6 separate regions of the Homo sapiens genome follow, and regions 1, 2, 3, 5 and 6 are each linked to region 4. The links are contacts of gene promoters, found by promoter capture Hi-C in blood cells and fetal thymus (Javierre and others, 2016). All regions are on one chromosome and are shown on one strand. Each heading gives the region's core, a stretch centred on a gene start or on the middle of the fragment in contact. The rest is flanking DNA. Distances are from core to core; before and after follow the strand shown.

What was found. Contacts are between HindIII fragments. The CHiCAGO score rates a contact against its expected background, and 5 or more counts as called.
Region 1: a contact is called between a fragment that was not itself captured here and the fragment with the promoter of NTN1 in region 4, in 3 of 17 cell types (naive CD8 T cells, total CD4 T cells and naive CD4 T cells). The highest score is 6.8, in naive CD8 T cells.
Region 2: a contact is called between a fragment that was not itself captured here and the fragment with the promoter of NTN1 in region 4, in 1 of 17 cell types (naive CD8 T cells). The highest score is 5.8, in naive CD8 T cells.
Region 3: a fragment that was not itself captured here is called in contact with the fragment with the promoter of NTN1 in region 4 in 2 of 17 cell types (naive CD8 T cells and naive CD4 T cells); the score reaches 5.5 in naive CD8 T cells.
Region 5: a fragment that was not itself captured here is called in contact with the fragment with the promoter of NTN1 in region 4 in 1 of 17 cell types (endothelial precursors); the score reaches 5.4 in endothelial precursors.
Region 6: a contact is called between a fragment that was not itself captured here and the fragment with the promoter of NTN1 in region 4, in 2 of 17 cell types (endothelial precursors and megakaryocytes). The highest score is 7.4, in endothelial precursors.

The regions. Positions count from the first base shown.
Region 1 is chr17:8,405,654-8,409,542 of GRCh38, forward strand. No RefSeq gene overlaps it. Among named protein-coding and RNA genes, the nearest start is that of RNF222, 9.8 kb to the left of the region's middle. The HindIII fragment of the contact is 2,555 bases long and covers 351-2,905 here.
Region 2 is chr17:8,389,492-8,392,979 of GRCh38, forward strand. It overlaps RNF222 (ring finger protein 222), which reads right to left. Exons shown (of 3, transcript NM_001146684.3): 3 at 1,211-3,488. The coding sequence ends at 3,308. Among named protein-coding and RNA genes, the nearest start is that of RNF222, 6.6 kb to the right of the region's middle. The HindIII fragment of the contact is 6,206 bases long and covers 1-3,488 here.
Region 3 is chr17:8,481,409-8,484,815 of GRCh38, forward strand. It overlaps MYH10 (myosin heavy chain 10), which reads right to left. Exons shown (of 43, transcript NM_001256012.3): 37 at 2,730-2,858; 38 at 1-2. LOC107987245 (a long non-coding RNA gene) reads left to right here and starts at 2. Exons shown (of 2, transcript XR_001752780.3): 1 at 2-780; 2 at 2,162-3,407. The HindIII fragment of the contact is 160 bases long and covers 1,695-1,854 here.
Region 4 is chr17:9,019,504-9,022,908 of GRCh38, forward strand. It overlaps NTN1 (netrin 1), which reads left to right and starts at 2,007. Exons shown (of 7, transcript NM_004822.3): 1 at 2,007-2,082; 2 at 2,808-3,405. The coding sequence starts at 2,871. RefSeq lists silencers at 1,369-1,418, 1,469-2,258 and an enhancer at 1,405-1,948. The HindIII fragment of the contact is 7,248 bases long and covers 1-3,405 here.
Region 5 is chr17:9,562,916-9,566,280 of GRCh38, forward strand. All of the region lies in intron 2 of STX8 (syntaxin 8), which reads right to left. Among named protein-coding and RNA genes, the nearest start is that of STX8, 11 kb to the right of the region's middle. The HindIII fragment of the contact is 606 bases long and covers 966-1,571 here.
Region 6 is chr17:9,532,137-9,535,923 of GRCh38, forward strand. All of the region lies in intron 4 of STX8 (syntaxin 8), which reads right to left. Among named protein-coding and RNA genes, the nearest start is that of STX8, 42 kb to the right of the region's middle. The HindIII fragment of the contact is 5,861 bases long and covers 1-3,787 here.

The sequences.
Region 1 (3,889 bases), core at 378-2,877, 610 kb before region 4:
ATGACCCTTGACCCTCCTCCCACCGCGCCTCCACTTCTCAGCATCCTGCTTGATCTGGTGACTGTGGGCAGATGGGAAGGCCTCACCAGAGAGGGCAAAGGACCCCACAAGTATGGAGTAAAGTATGGCCGTGTCCCTAGGGAAGCCTACACAGAGGCCAGGGGACGAGATCTGCTGCTTCAGTGGCCCCACAGGATGCCGCTGGGGCGTCCCGGGTGAGGCTGCAGTCTCCACAGTGAGACCAGGGGATTACCCTGGGTTGGTGCAGCCCTGAGGGTCTCCCCACCCATTTGCAGCTGTCGGCTCTGGCCTGGCTTGCTCCAGCCAGCTCAAGTGTTTGCTTTGCCCCAAGCTTCCCTGTTGTTTCACCCTCCTGGGCTCTGCCCCATTATTACATAGCCCAGGACTGCTGGTAGAACCGGGGACACCTTGGACCTCTGAACAGAACACATAGAGGCGCCTCCCTCTAGGAAGTTAATTGGAAAAAGGCCCTCTTTCTTCTCTGGCTGTGTCAGGGCACATGGCTTGGCAGGCAGAATAGGAACTGATTTTCGTTCCCAATTCACCTGCTTTGGTTCCCAAGCTCCCCAGCCCAACAATATGCAGTGGCCACAGGTCTCACCCCATCCCATCCCCTCCCTCTGAAGACTTCCTCGGCTCCCCATTGCCCTGAGGCACAGCCCATACTCAGGGAGCCCATGAAGCCCTCACTGCTCTCTGGAGACTTGCTCCAGCCAGCCCCTCTGCTGGGCTATCTTTTGCTACACAGCATGGCCACAGCTCTGGCTTCCAGCTCAGGTCCCTTGAAGGCCCTGGGCTTGTGGGCCTCTGTGATCTTTTTTTCATGCTTTTTTTTGGGGGTTGTTTCCTGGCTGGAATGCCTTTCTACCTCATTACATCTCTCCTGGCATCTCCTCTACATCTTTTTTTTTTTTTTTTTTGAAACAGGTTTTCGCTCTGTTGCCCAGGCTGGAGTGCAGTGGCACCATCTCAGCTCACTGCAACCTCCACCTTCTGGGTTCAAGCAATTCTCCCTGCTTTAGCCTCCCGAGTGGCTGGGATTATAGGCATGCGCCACCACACCTGGCTAATTTTTGTGTTTTTAGTAGAGACAGGGTTTCATCATGTTGGCCAGGCTGGTCTCGAACTCCTGACCTCAAGTGATCTGCCTGCCTCGGCCTCCCAAAGTGCTCAGCATGAGGCTGGGATTATAGGCATGTGCCACCACGCCTGGCTAATTTTTATGTTTTTAGTGTGTGTGTACATGACCCTTGACCCTCCTCCCGCCGCAGATGTGCGCCACCGCCCTTGGCCTTCCTCTATATCTTTTAATACCTCGATGAAGGGAGATCCTATTTCACACATCTCTGTAGGCTCTGGCACAAAGACCCAGTATTATTAGAGCCCAATAAATGTTTAAGTAAAAAAAAGCTGCCTTCTCAAGCCTAACTCATGTGTGTTGGGCCAGTAGTGAGGTGAAGGGGGTGTTTGAGCAACACAGTCATTCTACTTTCCATTCTTTTTTTTGTTTTTTTGAGACAGAGTCTCACTCTGTCACCCAGGCTGGGGTGCAGTGCAGTGGCGCAATCTCGGCGCACTGCAACCTCCGCCCCCGAAGTTCAAGCAATTCTCCTGCCTCAGCCTCCCAAGTAGCTGGGATTACAGGCACCTGCCACCACGGCCAGCTAATACTTTTGTATTTTTTGGTAGAGATGGAGTTTTACCATGTTGGCTAGACTGGTCTCGAACTCCTGACCTCAAGTGATCTGCCCGCCTCAGCCTCCCACAGTGCTGGGATTACAGGCATGAGCCGCGGCACCCAGCAAAAACATCCATTTCTTAAAAATATCTTAAACATGGCCTGGCCTGGCACCGTGGCTCACACTCGTAATCCTGGCTCTTTGGGAGGCGGAGGTGAGTGGATCGCTTGAGCTCAGGAGTTAGAGACCAGCCTGGGCACCATAGTGAAACACCATCTCTACTAAAATACAAAAATTAGCCAGGTGTGGTGGAGCGGATCTGTAATCCCGGATACTCGGGAGGCTGAGCCATGAGAATTTCTTTTGAACCTGGGAGGCAGAGGTTGCAGAGATCGCGCCACTGCAGTCCAGCCTGGGAAAAAATACGAAACAAAACACAACCCTTAAACATAAGCATTCATACCTTTAACAGCCTCAAATATAAGTGTCTGTACCTTAAAAATATAATTAGGGGCCGGGCACGGTAGCTCACGCCTGTAATCCCAGCACTTTGGGAGGCCGAGGTGGGTGGATCACGAGGTCAGGAAATTGAGACCATCCTGGCCAACATGGTGAAACCCCGTCTCTACTAAAATACAAAAAATTAGCCGGGCGTGGTGGTGCGTGCCTGTAGTCCCAGCTACTCGGGAGGCTGAGGCAGGAGAATCTCTTGAACCTGGGAGGTGGAGGTTGCAGTGAGCGGAGATTGAGCCACTGCACTCCAGCCTGGCGACACAGCAAGACTCTGTCTCAATTAATTCATGAAACGGTACAAACTTTAATTAATTAATGCAAACTTCTAAGTATAAAAAGGTTCACTTGTGTACCATCTGAAGTGCCACTCATGCGGACTCTGGCACGAGTGGGTGAGAGCTGGCGCCCACGCAGGGGACAGAAACTTGGGATCCCAGAGCTAGAAACAGGCGACTCTAGAACTTTCCGTGGCTGAGCCCAAGGCCCGGGTGAAATGCTTGACCCGAGAGCCCTTTCGATGGGAAACCACTGAAGTGGATCAAACAAAAGAATTCAGAGAAAAGTAGCTTGGACTCTTTCAACAGGATGAAACTAGCAAGGAAGGACGGTGACCCGAGGGTGCGGGCTGGGGAGGAAGTGGAGACAGCAGGGCGGGACACCAGGTGAGCAGAAAGGGGCTGAGTCATGGCCCAAGCTTGTGCCAGCCGGGGCAGCGCGGGGCTGCACTCCTGGCACCCACCTCACGGATTCCCTCTCACTGTTGTCAAGTGACCCACTCCCGGGGCAGAGATGCTTCAGGACAGGCGGGGGAGGGAAGCCACCAAGACAGTGGAGAGGTTTGTTCTCAGGGACACGGCAGCATTTGGAGAAACAGTGCTTGACGTGAGCTGGCCGCCTTGGAGGATTTTCTGAGTTGGCAGTGTTCATCCCAGGGCTTAAATCCTCCCGGACAGCTAGGAGGCCTCAATTCTTGAGACAGGTAAGGCCCGGGTCAGGGACAGAGTTCAGAGTAAGAACAATCTTATTTTCGGATGATAAAAATAGCACTACTATTGAAAAAAAATGTGGAAAATTTTAACACACACATAAACACACACGCACACACACACACACACACACACACACACACAATACAAGCTGTACACCACTTCTACAGAAAACTACCATTAATATTTTGGTGTTTATTCCAGCGTGCATATATATATATAGCCATATAATATATAATTATGTTAAAATGTATAGTTGTATTTATACATATGATATATAATTATTTTTAAGATAAATGAGGTCACATTGTATGAATGCTTTTGGGACCTTTTTTTTTTTTTCAATTGTTAACTTTTAATCCCAATAAACATTCTTTTAGATCCTCTTTTTAAATAGATGTAGTAATTTGCTTAATTAATCTCATGTTGATTCATATTTAGGTTGTTTCCAATTTTTCCCTATTATAAAAATTGTTGGCCGGGCGCAGTGGCTCATGCCTGTAATCCCAGCACTTTGGGAGGCCGAGGTGGGCGGATCACCTGAAGTCAGGAGTTCGAAACCAGCCTTGACCATCATGGTGAAACCCTGTCTCTACTAAAAATACAAAAATTACCTGGGCATCATGGCATCCACCTGTAATCCCAGCTACTAGGGAGACTGAGGCAGGAGAATCGCTTGAACCCGGGAGG
Region 2 (3,488 bases), core at 256-2,755, 630 kb before region 4:
AGTGCAACGGTGCGATCTCAGCTCACTGCAACTTCCGCCTCCTGGGTTCAAGCAATTCTCCTGCCTCAGCCTCCCTATTAGCTGGGATTACGGGCACGTACCACCAAGCCCGACTAATTTTTGTATTTTTAGTAGAGACAGGGTTTCACCATGTTGGCCAGGCTGGTCTTGAACTCCTGACCTCAGGTGATCCGCCCGCCTCGGCCTCCCAAAGTGCTGGGATTACAGGCGTGAGACATTGTGCCTGGCCTATTTCCTGCTCTTTCTATACAAATTGTAGTATCCAGTATCCGGTGTTCCACACCTTGCTTTTCCTCATTTTCCATTGTACCTTGGAGACATTCCATATAAGTTTATTGAGTCCTTTCTTGTTCTTTTTTTTTTTTTCTTTTACAGCTGCATGATATTCCCTGGACCTTAAGATAGATAACCAGTACCCTATTGATTAGCATTTAGGGTTTTTCCAATCCTTTATTTTTATAAACAATGCTGCAATTATATAGCATCACATGTATGCTGCTGCCCATACATGCAAGTATATCTGTAGGATGTTTCTAGAACAGGAATTGCTGGAGCAAAGCAGAAATTTTGGTAGATAATGTCACATTGCCCTTGATAGGGATTTTAATAATACACATTCCCACTAACCATTCCTCTGCCTCCCTCAGCTTCAGTAGCGGAGTGGGTTATGAGGCTTCCAGGTTTCGACAAGCTCATAGGTGAAAAATGGCATGCCAGCCAAATTTTAATTTTAATTTCTTTTGCAACTGTGGTTGAATAGATGTGTAAGAGCCATTTCTGTTTGCATTTCAAACTTTTTCTTTTCCTTTCTTTCTTTTCTTTCTTTCTTTTTTTTTTGAGACAGAGTCTCGCTGTGTCACCCAGCTGGAGTGCAGTGGCATGATCTCGGCTCACTGCAACATCCACCTCCCAGGTTCAAGCGATTCTCCTGCCTCAGCCTCCCGAGTAGCTGGGATTACAGGCGTGCGCCACCATGCCCGGCTAATTTTTTGTATTTTTAGTAGAGATGGGGTTTCACCATACTGGCCAGGCTGGTCTCGAACTCCTGACCTCGTGATCCACCTGCCTCGGCCTCCCAAAGTGCTGGGATTACAGGAGTGAGACACCGCATCAAACTTTTTCACCTAAAGTGAATTGTCCTTCAAGTCCAGGCTCGGAGCTTCCCACATAAATTGCAGAGTCTCTGGAATCTTTGAGAAAATATATACCTTTATTTTAAAAATAGCTTTTGGCATTCTCTGACAATAAAAGGAGTTGCAGCTACAGGTCACCATTGAACATACAAAAACACTGAGAGTATGTTGAAAGAAACTTTTGGCAAATACGACAGAATCTGAAAAGACTAGAACCAGGTTCCCAGAAATTCATGACACTGTTTAAAACAGCCTGGCTGAGGTTAAAAGAGACTCATTGGAGTCTTTGCAAATTTAACATTATTTTTATTCCTATAATAAATATTTTCCCCATGGAATCCATCTGTATCCCTCCCCTCCAATAGCACCTGTGCTCTTCTGTAATTTTTTTTTTTTTTTAGACAGAGTCTCGCTCTGTCACCCAGGCTGGAGTGCAGTGGCGCGATCTCGGCTCACTGCAACCTCCGCCTCCCGGGTTCAAGCGAATCTTCTGTCTCTCCCAGGTAGCTGGGATTACAGGCACGTGCCACCACTCCTGGCTAATTTTTGTATTTTTAGTAGAGACGCGGTTTCACCATATTGGCCAGGCTGGTCTCGAACTCCTGACCTTGTGATCCACCCACCTCGGCCTCCCAAAGTGCTGGGATTACAGACATGAGCCACCGTGCCTGGCCACTTCTGTAATCTTGAAATGAGCACAGAGAAGCCCACAAGTGCTTTTAAAGCAGCCCTCTCTATGTCCCAAATATCCCCTGTAGTGGGGCCCAATTCCCCAGCGGTCCCCAAATGACCAGCACTGCAGGCATTTAGGAACTAGATAAAACGTAGACTGCTATTTCTTCCCTCCCCACCAAGACAGCAAATTGCCCAGAGGGGTATAGGTTGAGGGAGGTTGGGGGCTCAGCTGTGGGCACAGCTGGGTGCAGACCACCACTTAGTTGAGATAATTGCTGGAGGTTTTTGTTGTTTTCCATTGAAAGGTGTTGGTTGACTTACGGACCTCAATAAACAGCCAATAGCTATCCCCGAATGACTCAGGCTAGACCCAACCTGAGGCTCTTCACAGTCCAACGTGGGGGCCCCAGGCAAAGAGACCTTGAGGAGCAGCTGAGGGCACCTGGGCCTCAGCATTTCTCGGTTGAGATGGCGGCGTCCCTGACAAGCACAGCTGTTTTCCTCCCCACCCTTCCTCACCCAGCCCAGCCTGGCAATCCACCTAGGAAACTGGCCCAGCTGGTGTGGCCTCTAAATGAGTGGCTGGGTCATGAGGAGGAGGACTAGCTGGGAGGGAGGCGGGAGCCCCCAGGGGTTCGTTTGCCCACATAGTTCTCAGCTGACTCAAGGCTCGCCTGTCAGGCTTCCCCTCCACTCCCTGCCACCCTTGAGAACCCCAGGACTCAAAGTTTGGATCCCTCCTTTGGCCTGGAGGGCTCAGGGAGACCTCTGGCTCCGTTCGTGGGGCACTCTGCTGGGGTGGCCTCTATCAACCAACCCCTGTCTCTGGATCTGGCCTCAGCTCTGCAGGAAGAACAGTTTCTGTTCATTCTCCCAGAAATTCTGGGGCAGCCTCTGAGATCAGCTTCTCCTTCAGGGAAGCCCTTCTAAGCTGGCAGGTTGGGGACAGGGAGGGTTAGGGGATGGGGTGCTGTGGTGGAGGTCGGGGGTGAGTGCTGAGATTCTGGGCGCCCCTTCTGTCTGTTCCCGAGGGCAAGCCGCAAATCCTGGGTGGGAATTCTGGCCTGGAGGATCCTGCCATCGGCCAGCCCAGCAGGACGTCTGCCTGCAGGACTTTCTTGTCCCTGGAGGGGCCCACCTGGCTTTGGGCAGGTCACCTGGCAGGTAAGGTCTGCCGCTCAGGGCTGGTGAGCCTGCAGGAGGGCAGTGACCACCCATCTTCCCAGCCTAGAGGAAGGGGAACGCATCTGCTGAGGATTCACGTGGGGAACACGCGCCGCGCGCATGGAGTCAGCTCCAGCCTCTCTGTCGAGCGGAAGCCCCTGCGGGGGTCGGGGAAGCCCAAGGCCCTCTCTGTGCCCAGGTCCTCCCCTCTGCCTGCCCGCGTGCCCCTCGGAGCTTGGTGGCACCAGGGCTGCCGTGGGCCTCCTGTCCCACCCCAGGCCACGGCTAGCCCGGCGGCCTCCCTGAGGTGCGGCTCACGCCTGCTTCCTCACCAGCAGCACCCAGGGCAGGATGGCGGCCACCACGGCCACCACAGCGATGAGCGTGATGAGCAGCAGGGCCCGCGATCGGCAGCAGAAGGCGCGGGCGGAGCGGGGCGCCAGGGAGGCCTCCGAGAGCTCTGCCAGGCTGCGGCGGGGCAGCACGCTGTCCTGC
Region 3 (3,407 bases), core at 525-3,024, 540 kb before region 4:
TCCTAAGCAGTGGAGACTGCGTTAAGCTCTGGCTGTGAATAGTTTCCTCACCTGTGGAATCTGACAGTGCCTGGAGCTACAGCGACCTTGCTCCTGTCACTGTTTACCTGCACCTCAAGCTGTCATTTAGATTTGAGAAATTAAACTGTCAAGAAAATCTGCTCGGTGCAGGCCAGCCAGGTGGTGTGTGGTGTCAGCATCTGACACAGATGTCCAGAGGAAAGTCTTCATTGCCATAAGGGCTTTGCTGTCACCTCCAACGTAAGAGGTGGCTATGTTCCTGCCCTTCTTGGAAAGCTGGTGCTTCTTAATATAAACTGAGCATGAACTTTATATAAACCCTGAACCCTAAGAAACATGAGCTATACCAACTGATGGCCCTGAAGTATCTTTCACATAAACAGTTTGAGATCAAGGACGCTGGCTGCACAGACCAGTGCGGATCCAGGCAGCTGTGCCGCAACAAGGATCAATGCTCCCATGGAGAGGAGGCAGGTGGGGGCCTCCGCAGGGGCTCAAGTGTTTGCAGAGCTGGGCCTCTAAGGTGGGCAAGGCCTCTTTCTTGAAGGGGACTGTGGCTCCACAGGGGGCTCTCAGAGGACTGGACAATGGGGACAGCCCTGTGCCTGCCAGCCCACGGGAGGAACTGCCTGATGGCTGCTTTTCCACAAACTTCTTTGGAAGGATGATTTGCCATGGAAAGGAGTCAAGGGTGCATTTATCTTATAAATGAGGAAACTGAGGCCCACCTGGATGAAGATACTGGCCCAAAGTCCCAAGGTTAGTCAGCAGCAAAAAGTCAGGGTTCCTACTCCCTGTCCAGGGCTCTTCCCACCAGCTGCCCCTTCCAAAAGATGCCACATTTGGCAAGAGCACACCTTGAAGGTGTCTTAGGAGCAGGGCTGCACGGGAGCTCCTCTGTCTGCTCCAGCACGTGCACCTGCCTTACATGAGTGTAGGCTGAAGGTCCTCTGACAGGCCTGGGTTCTAGCACATCCTGGCACACAGGGCAGGGTGGGAGTCAGGAAGGAAAGAGAGGCAGCTGACGGAATGTTCCAGGCCTGATCCCAGGGCCACTGACTCCAGACAGCTCTACCATCTGGCCTCTGGTGTTTTGTCTTCTTGGGCCTATGAAACACTCACTGTCCACTGGCTTGGGGGTGGGGCTCTAGGCAGACTGAGGGACCCACGGGAGAAAGGAAGGGACCCCGGGGCCTCTAAGCCAGATGAACGGAGGTGTTTGAGGGAAGGAAAAGTGTCAGAAATAGGGGGAAGGGCAGGGCCAGCTTTCCAGCTCAGTCTCTTCTCCCTAATGCAGTGTGAGTCAGGCCTTGCCTGAGAGTCTGAAAGAAACACTTTCAGAAAAAACAGTGTGGTACAGAGAATGCCTCTTGGACACTTGGGTAATGGCCCAGGAGCGCTCTCTAGGAGGCAGGCTCCAACAGCCACATCGCCTTTGGGGAAATGAGCATTTGGGGATCTCACCAATCAACTCCATGATGGATACATAGAGCTTACACATCTACTTCATTGATGAACATGCATCATTTTTAAGTACCCACGGAACACTTATAAAAACTAACGTGTTCTAGGTCCCAGAGCTCTTTCTCAGCATTCTCTGACCACAATGTGATAAAACTAGAAATCAACTTAAAAAACAAGCAAATGCCATACATTTGGAAATTTAAACCGCAAGCTTAAATTATTCACAGGATGAAGAAGAAACCATAATAGAAATTAGAAAAATTTAGAATTACATGACAATGAAATTACTCCACATCAAAATTTGTGGAACATGATGAAAACCGATCTTAGAGGGGAATTTACAGTCTTTTATAAACATATCAGACAAGAAGCTTGAGAGCTGATGAGCTAAGTGTCCAACTCAAGAAGTCAGAAAAAAAAGGAGCAAAAAATGGTGAGATAGAGGACAGCAGGACGAAAACCTCTTGAAGCTGGCTCTCAGGTTCTCTCTCAGGGTCGGCTCCGTGTTTACTGATCTGGTTTTGAGTTCCTTGTTCATTCCTGACACCTAGAGAGCCGTCCTCCTTTCTTGCAAGCTCAACTCTGCCTTTGCTAATATTTTATCCAATATTTATAGGTGTTTGTATTGGGAGTTTTTTCATATTAACTGATAATAACATTTAACTTACCTTTTCAGGTTTGAAGAAATGTTGATTATCCATCATTTATACGGTAATGTGTATATTTAAGTGTGCCTTGCACTGTTACAGTTCCTATATGCAACACTTTATCAGTCTCTGCTTCATGAGAACTTACAAGAAAGATAAATGAAGGAATAACAGGAATTCAATGAAACAAACTTCTCTCCTTTTAAGTTATCACATGAGTAGTGCTTCTGTGTAAAAACAAGGCAATTTTGCATCACCAAGGTTGGAGTTACACAGTTCTTGTGCTTATCAACACTTCCCTTTCCTGCACAGGGGAACAGGCCAAGAAGGTGGCCTGAAAAGCTACTCATCAGCTCCTTTGCCTTTTGCCAGGTAGAGGAATATATGTGAGCAGTGTCGAAGTGATAACTTTCTGTTTCCAAACTGAAGCAACAAGAAGGTTGAGGACCATATTAAAAATGGATACTTAAAAAAATAAAAAACAAAAATGTATACTGACATTACAGTGGGCTACAAATATATTAACTTTTTTTTGATCTTGGAGAAATTTCAAGGGCAAATATATTTGTTGAACAAATGGATAAGTAACAAACCAACCTCCTGCAATTGAAGGATTTCTGCTTCCAGACTCTTCAATTTCTTTTCACTCTCTTTGGATTGAGCAAAAATCTCATCTCTGGATGCACGAGCTTCTTCTAATTCACGTTGGTAATCCTTCATCTGAGCCTAAGATTAAATAAGAAGGTTTTGGGGTGGTTTACATTCTTAGTTTTAGTTAAAATAAAATTTTTTTAGAGATGAGCCCTGGCTGTGTTGCCCAGGCTGATCTCAAACTCAAGGCCTCAAGCATTGCTCCTGATTACAAGTGTGAGCTGCGGTGCCTGGCCCCATTCTTAGCTTGTAAACATGGTATTTTTTTTCTAGATTATAAAAGTAATATACATTCATTGTAAATATAAAAGTATATGGGAATGACAAGGATATCGTAAGAAAACTACAGATCAAAATGAAATCCCTTATGAATACAAATGCAAAAATCTTCAACAGAATAGTAGCAAACTGAATCTGGCAACATGTAAAAAGGATTATACACCATGACCAAGCAGGATCTATCTGAGGAATGCAAGGTTGGTTTGACAACCAAAAATGAATTAATGTAACCATATGATCATCACAATAAATGCTGAAGAAGCACTTGACAAAATCTAATACCCTTTCAATATAAAAATGCTCAACAAGCTATGAACAGAAGGAAATTTCTTCAACTCTGATTAA
Region 4 (3,405 bases), core at 757-3,256:
CATTTGCATACATGAGAAAGCCTATTTATATGTGTTACAGACCTGCAATATGTATGTCTATATCCCATCAGCTATAATATTCAAATGTGTCAACTCACGTGATGCTCACAACCCAGTGGGGTAGAAAGTATTATCTCCCTTGTACAGATGGAGGAAACCAAGGCATAGACTTTCCATAGTCACACAGCAGAGGCAGAATTTGAACCCAGGTACCCTGGCTCCGAAGCGTTTCCTCCTAAGAGCTATGCTGCCTTTCAGTATACCATTGCGATTTCACAGGTCACCATGGTTAACCATTTCATTTATTTCCTTTGACCTCACTTTTAATTTGTTATTGTGTCATATTTTATGTACCCTTGTAAGTTACCTGAAATCCTTTCTGCCACAAGGTGAGGTAAGGCATAAATAAACAGTGCAGAGTGTGGTAAACGGCACAAGAAGGCACAGCTAAATTGCTACCCCGGGGTAAGAAGATGAATCCAGGCTGTCCTGCAATGGAATGGATTTATTTTCTTGAGCTGTGGTGAGCTCCCATCCCTGGAAGAGCTGGCTTGGGTGGCCGTCTCTCTGGGAGGCTGGGGAAGGCCTTCTTCCAAGGAGACGGAGCTGGGCCAGACGAGCCCCGAGGCCCCTTCTTAGATTCTCAGGGTTTATGAAAATGCCAATAAGACAAACTGAGGCACTTAATGGAGCTAATGCAGCAAGGCAGCCCTTGGGCCGGAACCAGGACCTGGGGCTTTTCATCCGGGTCTATTACTGGACCACACATCTACAAGTAACAAATAAACGAGCAGAGATTCCGTTCCAAACTCTCGGCCCAGTGTATTCCTTTCCCAGAGCTCTCTGGCTGCTGTTGCAAGATGACCAAAGGATGCTGTCACTGTCCTCAGTCTTTTTATTGGGGCGATGGAGAATGAGGCAAGGAGGGGCTGGGTGGCCCCGCAGATGCCCCATGACACCATCATTCGGCAAGGTTATGCATTTGACGAATGCCCTGCAGTGGAAGGAGCCCAGGCTTCTCTTCCTGTTTTTGATGTTTACTTGGGGGTTGATCTTGTGCGAGTTTCTTCAGCTCCCGGGACCCTCAGTTTCCTCATCTGCAAAATGGAGTTAATACAACAGCAAAGCTGCTGTGGAGGTCCCATGAGCTATTACAGGGCTTTGCACCCTTAAAAATGCGGTTGAGGAAGTACCGATACGCCTGCCTCAGGGGATCTGGGGAGGGCTGGGCTGTCCCCATGCCTGAGACCAGGCAGGCCCGTCTTGGAGGGGCGGTGGCCAGCGTCCAGGTGCTGCCAGCTTCCTACCCCTTCAGCCTCCTGCCCACCACTGCTCCCTTGGCTAGAACGAAGCCGCGTTCCCGACAGACAGGCTCACGCACGGTGATATCCGTGGGAGTGCGGGCGAGCAGCCCCTCCTCGCCGGACCCCGGGGGCTTCGGGCAAAAATGGAGAGCAGGCAGAGGTCACATCCTCCTCCTCTTCCTCACGCTCCCGGGCTGCGTGCCCACAGGGGCACAGCCCTGTGCGCGGTGCCACCGGGGGCCATCAGGCTGGGTTAGAGGAAGGCCCGACCTCCGCGCAGCAAAGAAAACAAACACAGATGTGTTTGGCTGGGACCGGGAGGGAGAAAGTGGCCCCCTTCCCCCGCCCGCGCGCTCCCCCGGGCGTGAGGCTCTCCGGGCGGCGCGGGGCGCGGGCGAGGCTGACAGTCCCCGGCGGCCCCTCCTCCCCCACGGGGTGCGCGCCTGGCCCGGCCCAGCCCCCTCTCCGGGGTTTCCCCGGGTGCTCTCCTCGCTTTCTCTTTGTCTCTGCTGTTCTTTCTCGGGCTCCCGGGTTCCCACCCGCCTGTGCTCTCCCTCTCGGGCGTCCGGGCCGGTTCCCTTTAACTTTCTTCTTTCCCGGGGTGAAAACTTTGCTCGGAGCTGGCGGCAGCTCGCGGACGTTATTGGCCGGCGCCCCGCCCGGCGGCCCCGCCCCCCGCCCCCGCGCTCCCCTCCGCCCCTCACTCCCAGCGCGAGTGGCGGCGGCGGCGGAGCCTTCGGGGGCGAGCGCGCGTGTGTGTGAGTGCGCGCCGGCCAGCGTGAGTGTGTGTGCGCCCCGGGCGCGGGCAGGGCAGCACTCCGAGCTCGGCGGGAGCGGCGGGAGCCGGGCGGCCGCGTAGTCACTCGGGCGAGAGAGGCGGCGGCGGGGCCGGGACCGGGGCTGGGGCTGGGGCAGCGGCGGCCGCGCCGGGCATGGAGCTGGCAAGCCCGCGCTGAGGCGGGACGCGCCTGCTAGCAGCGAGCGAGAGGCTCTCCGGCGACCGGCGCGCGGGCTCCCCGGAGGGGCCAGGCAAACTTTTCTTTCTCTTTTGCCCCCTCCAGAGGTAAAGTCCCGAACGCGGACTTTCCGGCGGGGACGCGATCGGGGGGCATCTGAGAGGGACCCCGGGCTGCGAGACGAAGGGGCGCGGGCCGTGCAGAGTCGGGGTCCCCCAGCTCTCCTGCGCCCGAAACTTGGGGTGCGAGGGGGGCTGGTCGCGGACGGGGAGACCGGCTCAGGCATGCCCCTCGGGCGGCGTGGGGGCGGCGGTGGCGGGGAAGCAGAGCGTTCTCCCGCCGGGCGGGGAAGAAGGGGCGCGAGCGGTGCGGACTTGGAGGGCCCCGGCTTCGCCGCCCGCGGGACTTTGGGGGAGAGAGGCGGGCAGTCGGCTGCGGGGTGGGTGCCCAGGAAGCCGGGCGTTCTCCCGCATCTCCGCTCGCCACCCCGCCGAGAGCTGGAGGGCGCGGGGCGGGCTGGCTGAGCGCAGCTCCCTTCTCTCCGCAGGCGCCTTCTGCGGCAGGCGGACAGATCCTCGGCGCGGCAGGGCCGGGGCAAGCTGGACGCAGCATGATGCGCGCAGTGTGGGAGGCGCTGGCGGCGCTGGCGGCGGTGGCGTGCCTGGTGGGCGCGGTGCGCGGCGGGCCCGGGCTCAGCATGTTCGCGGGCCAGGCGGCGCAGCCCGATCCCTGCTCGGACGAGAACGGCCACCCGCGCCGCTGCATCCCGGACTTTGTCAATGCGGCCTTCGGCAAGGACGTGCGCGTGTCCAGCACCTGCGGCCGGCCCCCGGCGCGCTACTGCGTGGTGAGCGAGCGCGGCGAGGAGCGGCTGCGCTCGTGCCACCTCTGCAACGCGTCCGACCCCAAGAAGGCGCACCCGCCCGCCTTCCTCACCGACCTCAACAACCCGCACAACCTGACGTGCTGGCAGTCCGAGAACTACCTGCAGTTCCCGCACAACGTCACGCTCACACTGTCCCTCGGCAAGAAGTTCGAAGTGACCTACGTGAGCCTGCAGTTCTGCTCGCCGCGGCCCGAGTCCATGGCCATCTACAAGTCCATGGACTACGGGCGCACGTGGGTGCCCTTCCAGTTCTACTCCA
Region 5 (3,365 bases), core at 19-2,518, 540 kb after region 4:
AATTTTTTTAAAGGACAAGGTTATTTACTGCGGTGTTATTCACAACTCAAGACTGGAAGCAATTTAACTGCCTTTCCTTAGGAGACAGGTTAAATAAAGAATGTTACATCTACGCAATAGAGTACCCATACAGCGCTAAAGAAGAACAAGGAATATGAAATGAAATGTAGAGGTTTCTATATTATTAAGTGAAAAGACCAAGATACAAAAGAGTATCTGTCATTCATTCATTCATCCATTTATTTATTTATTTATTTATTTATTTATTTATTTATTTATTTATTGAGACAGAGTTTCATTCTTGTCACCCAGGATGGAGTGCAGTGGCACGATCTCGGCTCGCTGTAACCTCCGCCTCCTGAGTTCAAGTGATTCTCCTGCCTCAGCCTCCCGAGTAGCTGGGATTACAGGTGCTCGCCACCACACCCGGCTAATGTTTTGTATTTTTAGTAGAGACGGGGTTTCACCATGTTGGCCAGGCTTGTCCCAAACTCCTGACCTCAGGTGATCCACCCGCCTAGGCCTCCCAAAGTGCTGGGATTACAGGCGTGAGTCACCGCGCCTGGCCCGAAAGAGTATCTTTTATATAAAAGGAAAAACATAACACACAGACACACAGAGACACACACATACACACGCATAGAGGCTTATTTCTGCATAAAGTAACACAGGAAGAATAAACCAGAAATTAATGAAAATGGTTATTTAGAAGAAGTAGGTTAAGAAAAGGTAGAAAAGAGAGGAATGGGAACAAGACTTTGAGTGTCACTTTTATATAATTTTGACTTCTGAACAATGTAAATGTTTTACTTATTTAAAATTAAATTAAAAAGTTGGAAAAAGCAACTCCTGAAAATGAATAAAAACAGAAACAAAGGATAACATAAGACAGAAAAAAAAAGAATCAATTATTGCAAAAGTCCTCAAAAAAATACTGGCAAACCGAATCCAGCAGCACATCAAAAAGCTTATCCACCACGATCAAGTAGGCTTTATCCCTGGGATGCAAGGTTGGTTCAACATATGCAAAACAAAAAATGTGTTTCATCACACAAACTGAAATAAGACAAAACTTACATGATTATCTCAATAGAAGCAGGAAAGGCTTTTGATAAAATTCAACACCACTTCACGTTAAAAACACTCAATAAACTAGGTATTCAAGGAACATACCTCAAAATAATAAGAGCCATCTATGACAAACCCACAGCCAACATCATACTGAATGGGCAAAATCTGGCAGCATTCCACTTGAAAACTGGCACAAGACAAGGATGCCCTCTGCTACCACTCCTATTCAACATAGTATTGGAAGTCCTGACCAGGGCAGTTAGGCAGGAGAAAAAGAGGAGAGGAGAGGAGAAAAGAGGTGAGAAAGGAAAGGAAAAAGGAAAGGGAAGGGAGAGAAAGAGAGAAAGGAAGGAAAAGAAAGAAAAGAAAGAGAGAGAGGAAGGAAGGAAGGAAAAGAAAAGGCATCCAAATAGGAAGAGAGGAAATCAAACTATTCCTGTTTGCAGACAACATGATCCTATATCTAGGAAATCTCATACTCCCAGTCCAAAAGCTCATTAAGCTTATAAACAACTTCAGCAAAGTCTCAGGATACAAAATCAAAGTGCAAAACATCACTAACATTCCTGTACACCAACAGTCAAGCCAAGGGCCAAATCAGGAATGCACTCCTATTTACAATTGCCAACAGAAAATAAAATACCTAGGAAGACAGCTAACCATGAGGTAAAGATCTCTACAAGAAGAACTACAAAACACTGCTCAAAGAAATCAGAGATGACACAAACAAATGGAAAAACATTCCATGCTCATGGACAGCAAGAAGCAATATCGTTAAAATGGCCATACTGCCCAAAGCAATTTATAGATTCAATGCCATTCCTATTAAACTACCATTGACATTCTTCACAGAACTAGAAAAAAGTATTTTAAAATTCATATGGAACCAAAAAAGAGCCCAAATAGCCAAGGCAATCCTAAGCAAAAAGAACAAAGCTGGGCCGGGCGCAGTGGCTCATGCCTGTAATCCCAGGACTTTGGGAAGCCAAGGCGGGAGGATCATCTGAGGTCAGGAGTTCGAGATCAACCTGGCCAACATGACAAGAGCCCATCTCTACTAAAACTACAAAAATTAGCTGGAAGTGGTGGCTCATGCCTGTAATCCCAGCTACCTGGGAGGCTGAGGCACGGGAATCACTTGAACCCGAGAGGCAGAGGTTGCAGTGAGCCAGGATCGTGCCACTGCACTCCAGCATGGGCGACAGAGCAAGACTCTGTCTCAAAAAGAAATAATAAAATAAAAATAACATAGCTGGAAACATCATGCTACCCAACTTCAAACTATACTACAGGGCTACAGTAACCAAAACAGACATAGACCAATGGAACAGAATAGAGAACTCAGTTGACCAGGCACAGTGGCTCACGCCTATAATCCCAGCACTTTGGGAGGCCGAGGCGGGCAGATCACTTGAGGTCAGGATTTCGAGACCAGCCTGGCCAACATGGCGAAACCCTCTCTCTAATAAAAATACAAAAATTAGCTGGGCATGGTGGCACACACCTGTAATCCCAGCTACTCGGGTAGCTGAGATGCAAGAATCACTTGAAGCCAGAAGGGAGAGGTTGCAGTGAGCTGAGATCATGTCACTGCACTCCAGCCTAGGTGAGAAGAAACACCGTCTCAAAAAAAAAAAAAAAAAAAAAATAGAGTACCCAGAAATAAGGCCACACGTACAACTATCCGAGCTTTGACAAAGCTGACAAAAACAAGCAATGGGGGAAGGATTCCCTATTCAATAAGTGGTGCTGGGATAACTGGCTACCACGTGCAGAAGATAGAAATTGAACTCCTTCCTTACACCACATGCAAAAATTAACTTCAGATGGATTAAAGACTTAACTGTAAAACCTAAATCTATAAAAACCCTGGAAGACAACCTAGGCAATACTATTCTGGACATAAGAACAGGCAAAGATTTCAGGACAAAGACATCAAAAGCAATTGCAACAAAAGCAAAAATTGACAAATAGGATCTAATCAACTAAAGAGCTTCTGCACAGAAAAGGAAACTATCCACAGAGTGAACAAACAACCTACACATTGTGAGAAAATATTTGCAAGCTATCCATCTGACAAAGATCTAATAGCCAGTATCTATAAGGAACTTAAGCAAATTTACAAGAAAAATCCACCCCATTAAAAAGCAGACAAAGGACACGAATAGACACTTTTCAAAGGAAGACAGGCATGCTGCCAAAAAAAACAGGAAAAAAAGCTCAACATCACTGATCATTAGAGAGGTGCAAATCGAAACCACAATGAGATACCATCTCACACCACTCAGCATGGT
Region 6 (3,787 bases), core at 1,196-3,695, 510 kb after region 4:
GCTTCCTTTCCTATCCCATGGTGAGGGAAAAAAAAAAAAATCCGGACTAAGTAGCTACAGAGATCTCTTCTGGCGATAATCAGTCTTGTGAGAACATACATAACCTAAAAACTTCGAATAGCTACTCTGTCAAGTTCGAAGGTAGTTTCAAGATACTTAAGAGTATTACTTTAAGCCTTCTACTTCGTCATCTCCAAGATACACTGTTAAGTAAAAAAGATGACGTGCAGTAAAGAATGCATATTATATTATAATTCCTGTTTTTTTAAAAAACACAAACAAGTTGGAATAGAGACTGGGGATATGGGCCCGTGCATGTATCCTTGGATACGTGTAGAATCCTTCTGGAAGGGCACACACACAGAAAACTGTTAAAAGTGGCTGCTTCTGGGGAAGAAAATGGGAAACTGTAGGTGAGAAGTAGAAAGAGCCTGAATTTTCATTGATTACAATTTTGTACAGTTTAACAATGTAACAAATTACTTTAAAAATAAATTTATATTTAAAAAACATTCTTCAAAAACAAATATTCATTCCCATAAACCACTGGAATGGTCAACATTTTGACCTAACACTATCAACCAAACCGACTCTTCCACCAAGAAGAGTCCCAAAAAATACCTCATCATATGACATATCTAGTTTCTCTCTCCAAGAAAAACATGGTCACTGTACACATTATATGGCTGGTATCAGACCATTAGTTAAGCGTATTACCCTAAACATTCTGCTTCATCGTCTTCAATATATACTGTGAAGCAAAAAAAAGATGATGCAGCATAAAGACTGGAAAAAAATGTGCTAAGGCAACATATATTCCAAATTTTTTTTATCAGTTCCTACTTCAAATACTCCCTTTGTCATTCTATCAGTCCTTGCACCAAATTATCTATTAACATTTCACCAGAATGTGTAGAAAAAGTCAGAAGCTACTACTTCTCAAAATAGAATTAAACAAGAATTAACAAAATATATACAAGATTATCTGTCTGCAGAAGAAACCAGCTCTATGAAACTGTATCAATGTGTCACGTTAAAATTGCTTGCAGGCTGGTCACGATGGCTCACGCCTTGTAATGCCACGGCTTTCGGTGGCCGAGGCAGGTGGATCACCGGAGTTCAGGAGTTCAAGACCAGCCTGGCCAACATGGTCAAACCCCGTCTCTAATAAAAATACAAAAATGAGCTGGGCAGGGTGATATGTGCCTGTAGTCCCAGCTACTTGGGAGCTGAGGCAGGAGAATCACTGGAACCTCGGAGGCAGAGGCTGCAGTGAGCCAAGATCGTGCCACTGCTCCAGCCTGGGTGACAGAGTGAGACTCCATCTCGAAACAAAACAAAACAAAAAAACCGCTTGCACTTCAAAAGTACTTCTCCTAAGCCTCTTCAGGAAGACAAGTGATAGGTGTAAACATCCCAGCTTCTTTAAAAAGTGAATTGAAGACTTAAAGTAATGACTAAGGTTCACTTGAGCCTAAATAAAACAACCCAAAAGGCCAGCGAGTGACTAACTCTCTGGGATTTCAATAAAAGGAGAAGTGACAAGAAAGAAGGTTCTTAATGAGGTCAAAGAATTGAACCTTGAGTCTCTGGTTCTTCAAGAAACTTCAAGAACAGCGTTGCTATTGCTTAGGGAGTTGCAGAGAAGGGTTGATACAGACACTACAACTTGCCTACCCAACATCAGTATGTCTCATCTTCCTTGTTATCAGAACCTCAATTTTGTTCAGGGCTCCACTGCTCAGAGACCATAACCTCATCCTCATTTTCAGCTCAAGAATATCTCCCTCCTGAACTAACCTAGTCAACCACAGCAACCCCATTCTCCCATCGTTTTTGGTATAACATGATCATGTGATACAATAGTCTATTTCTATTTTGAGCCAGAGTCAATTAGGCAGCTTCCAGGAAGCATTTCATTGCTCTTTAAAAAGAAATAACTGAAAAATACAAAAAAAGCCAAGATAAAAAAATGCTAAAAGCTATTAGAGAATTAAGAAAATGGCTTTAATATTAATAACGGACATTAATTATTGATAGTTTTCATATAAACAACAACAATAGAAAAGTACAATTTAAAAAACCTGGATTTAAAACAGCAACCAAAAAGATTAAAAAAAAAACAAATAAATTTGACCAAAAACATGTTAGACTTTTGTGAAGAAGACGTTACTGAAAGACCTGAAAAATGCCTTGGAGAAACAAACAAACAAACAAACAAACAAACAAATCCCACAATCTTGGATGAGAAAATTCAACATTGTAAAGGATTTCAAGATTTAACACAATCCCAATTGTTTTTAAAAGTTGTTCTCTCTTTTGGAATTACATTAGCTGATTCTAGAATTCATGTTAAAAAATAAGCAAAACTCGGCCAGGCGTGGTGGCTCACACCTATAATCCCAGCACTTTGGGAGGCCGAGCTAGGCGGATCATGAGGTCAAGAGATTGAGACCATCCTGCCAACATGGTGAAACTCCGTCTCTTCTAAAAATACAAAAATTAGCTGGGCATGGTGGTGCGCACCTGTAATCCCAGCTACTTGGGAGGCTGAGGCAGGAAAATTGCTTGAACCCAGGAGGCGGAGGTTGCAGTCAGCCGAGATTGCGCCACTGCACTCCAGCCTGGCGACACAGTGAGATTCTGTCTCAAAAAAAAAAGGCAAAACTCTTAAAAAGAAGTTTAATGGCAGATTTGTCCTATCACATATTAAAACTTAAAGTATCCATATTTTAGAAAATGTGGTACTAGCACATAAGTAGACAGAAGGACCAATGGAACACATTACAAAGTCCAGAAATAGATCAAAATACATATGGGAACGTATTCTATGATAATGCAGCATCTTACATCTGAAGATGAGAAGATGAACTACTAAGTAAAAAATATCGTCAGTCACAAAAATAGAATAGAGCCAAGTAGGAAAAACGTAGGATTCATACTCTTCACCAATTAAATTCCAAATGGATCAAAGATTTAACAGTTATAAAACCACAGAAGTACCAGAAAAAAGCACAGGAGAATTTCTTTATAACCTTGGTTCACTATAGTTATATATAATAATTACATAAAACTCTACTAAGATATTACTATATAAAACTCTCTTTATATGTTAGTCTGGAGTAGGATACAAAAGTTTAACAACTTTCTTTGGGAAAGACTGTTGGAAAACAGGCACTCACCTAAATTGCTGGCACAAGTCTAGAGGGGTTCTACCCCGCTAGAAAATAACTTGTGAAATGCTATTGAAATTACAAACGCACATACCCTCTGACCCAGCCATCCTACTTTTTTTTTTTTTTTTTTTTTTTTTTGAGACGGAGTCTTGCTCTGTCACCCAGGCTGGAGTGCAGTGGCGCAATCTCGGCTCACTGCAAGCTCCACCTTCCGGGTTCACACCATTCTCCTGCCTCAGCCTCCTGAGTAGCTGGGACTACAGGCACCCGCCACCACGCCTGGCTAATTTTTTGTATTTTTAGTAGAGACGGGGTTTCACCGTGTTAGCCAGGATGGTCTCAATCTCCTGACCTCATGATCTGCCCGCCTTGGCCTCCCAAAGTGCTGGGATTACAGGCGTGAGCCATCGTGCCCATCCTCCAGCCATCCTACTTCTAAGAACTCACCTAGAGATATACTTTCACATATGCAAAATCCCTCTACTATATTTTTGTAATAGAAAAAGACTGAAAACAATACTCGCATATATATAAGAGCCTAGTTAAATGACAGTAAATGCATACAATGAAATATTATAAGGCTACAAAAACTAATGACAAAACCTTACGTC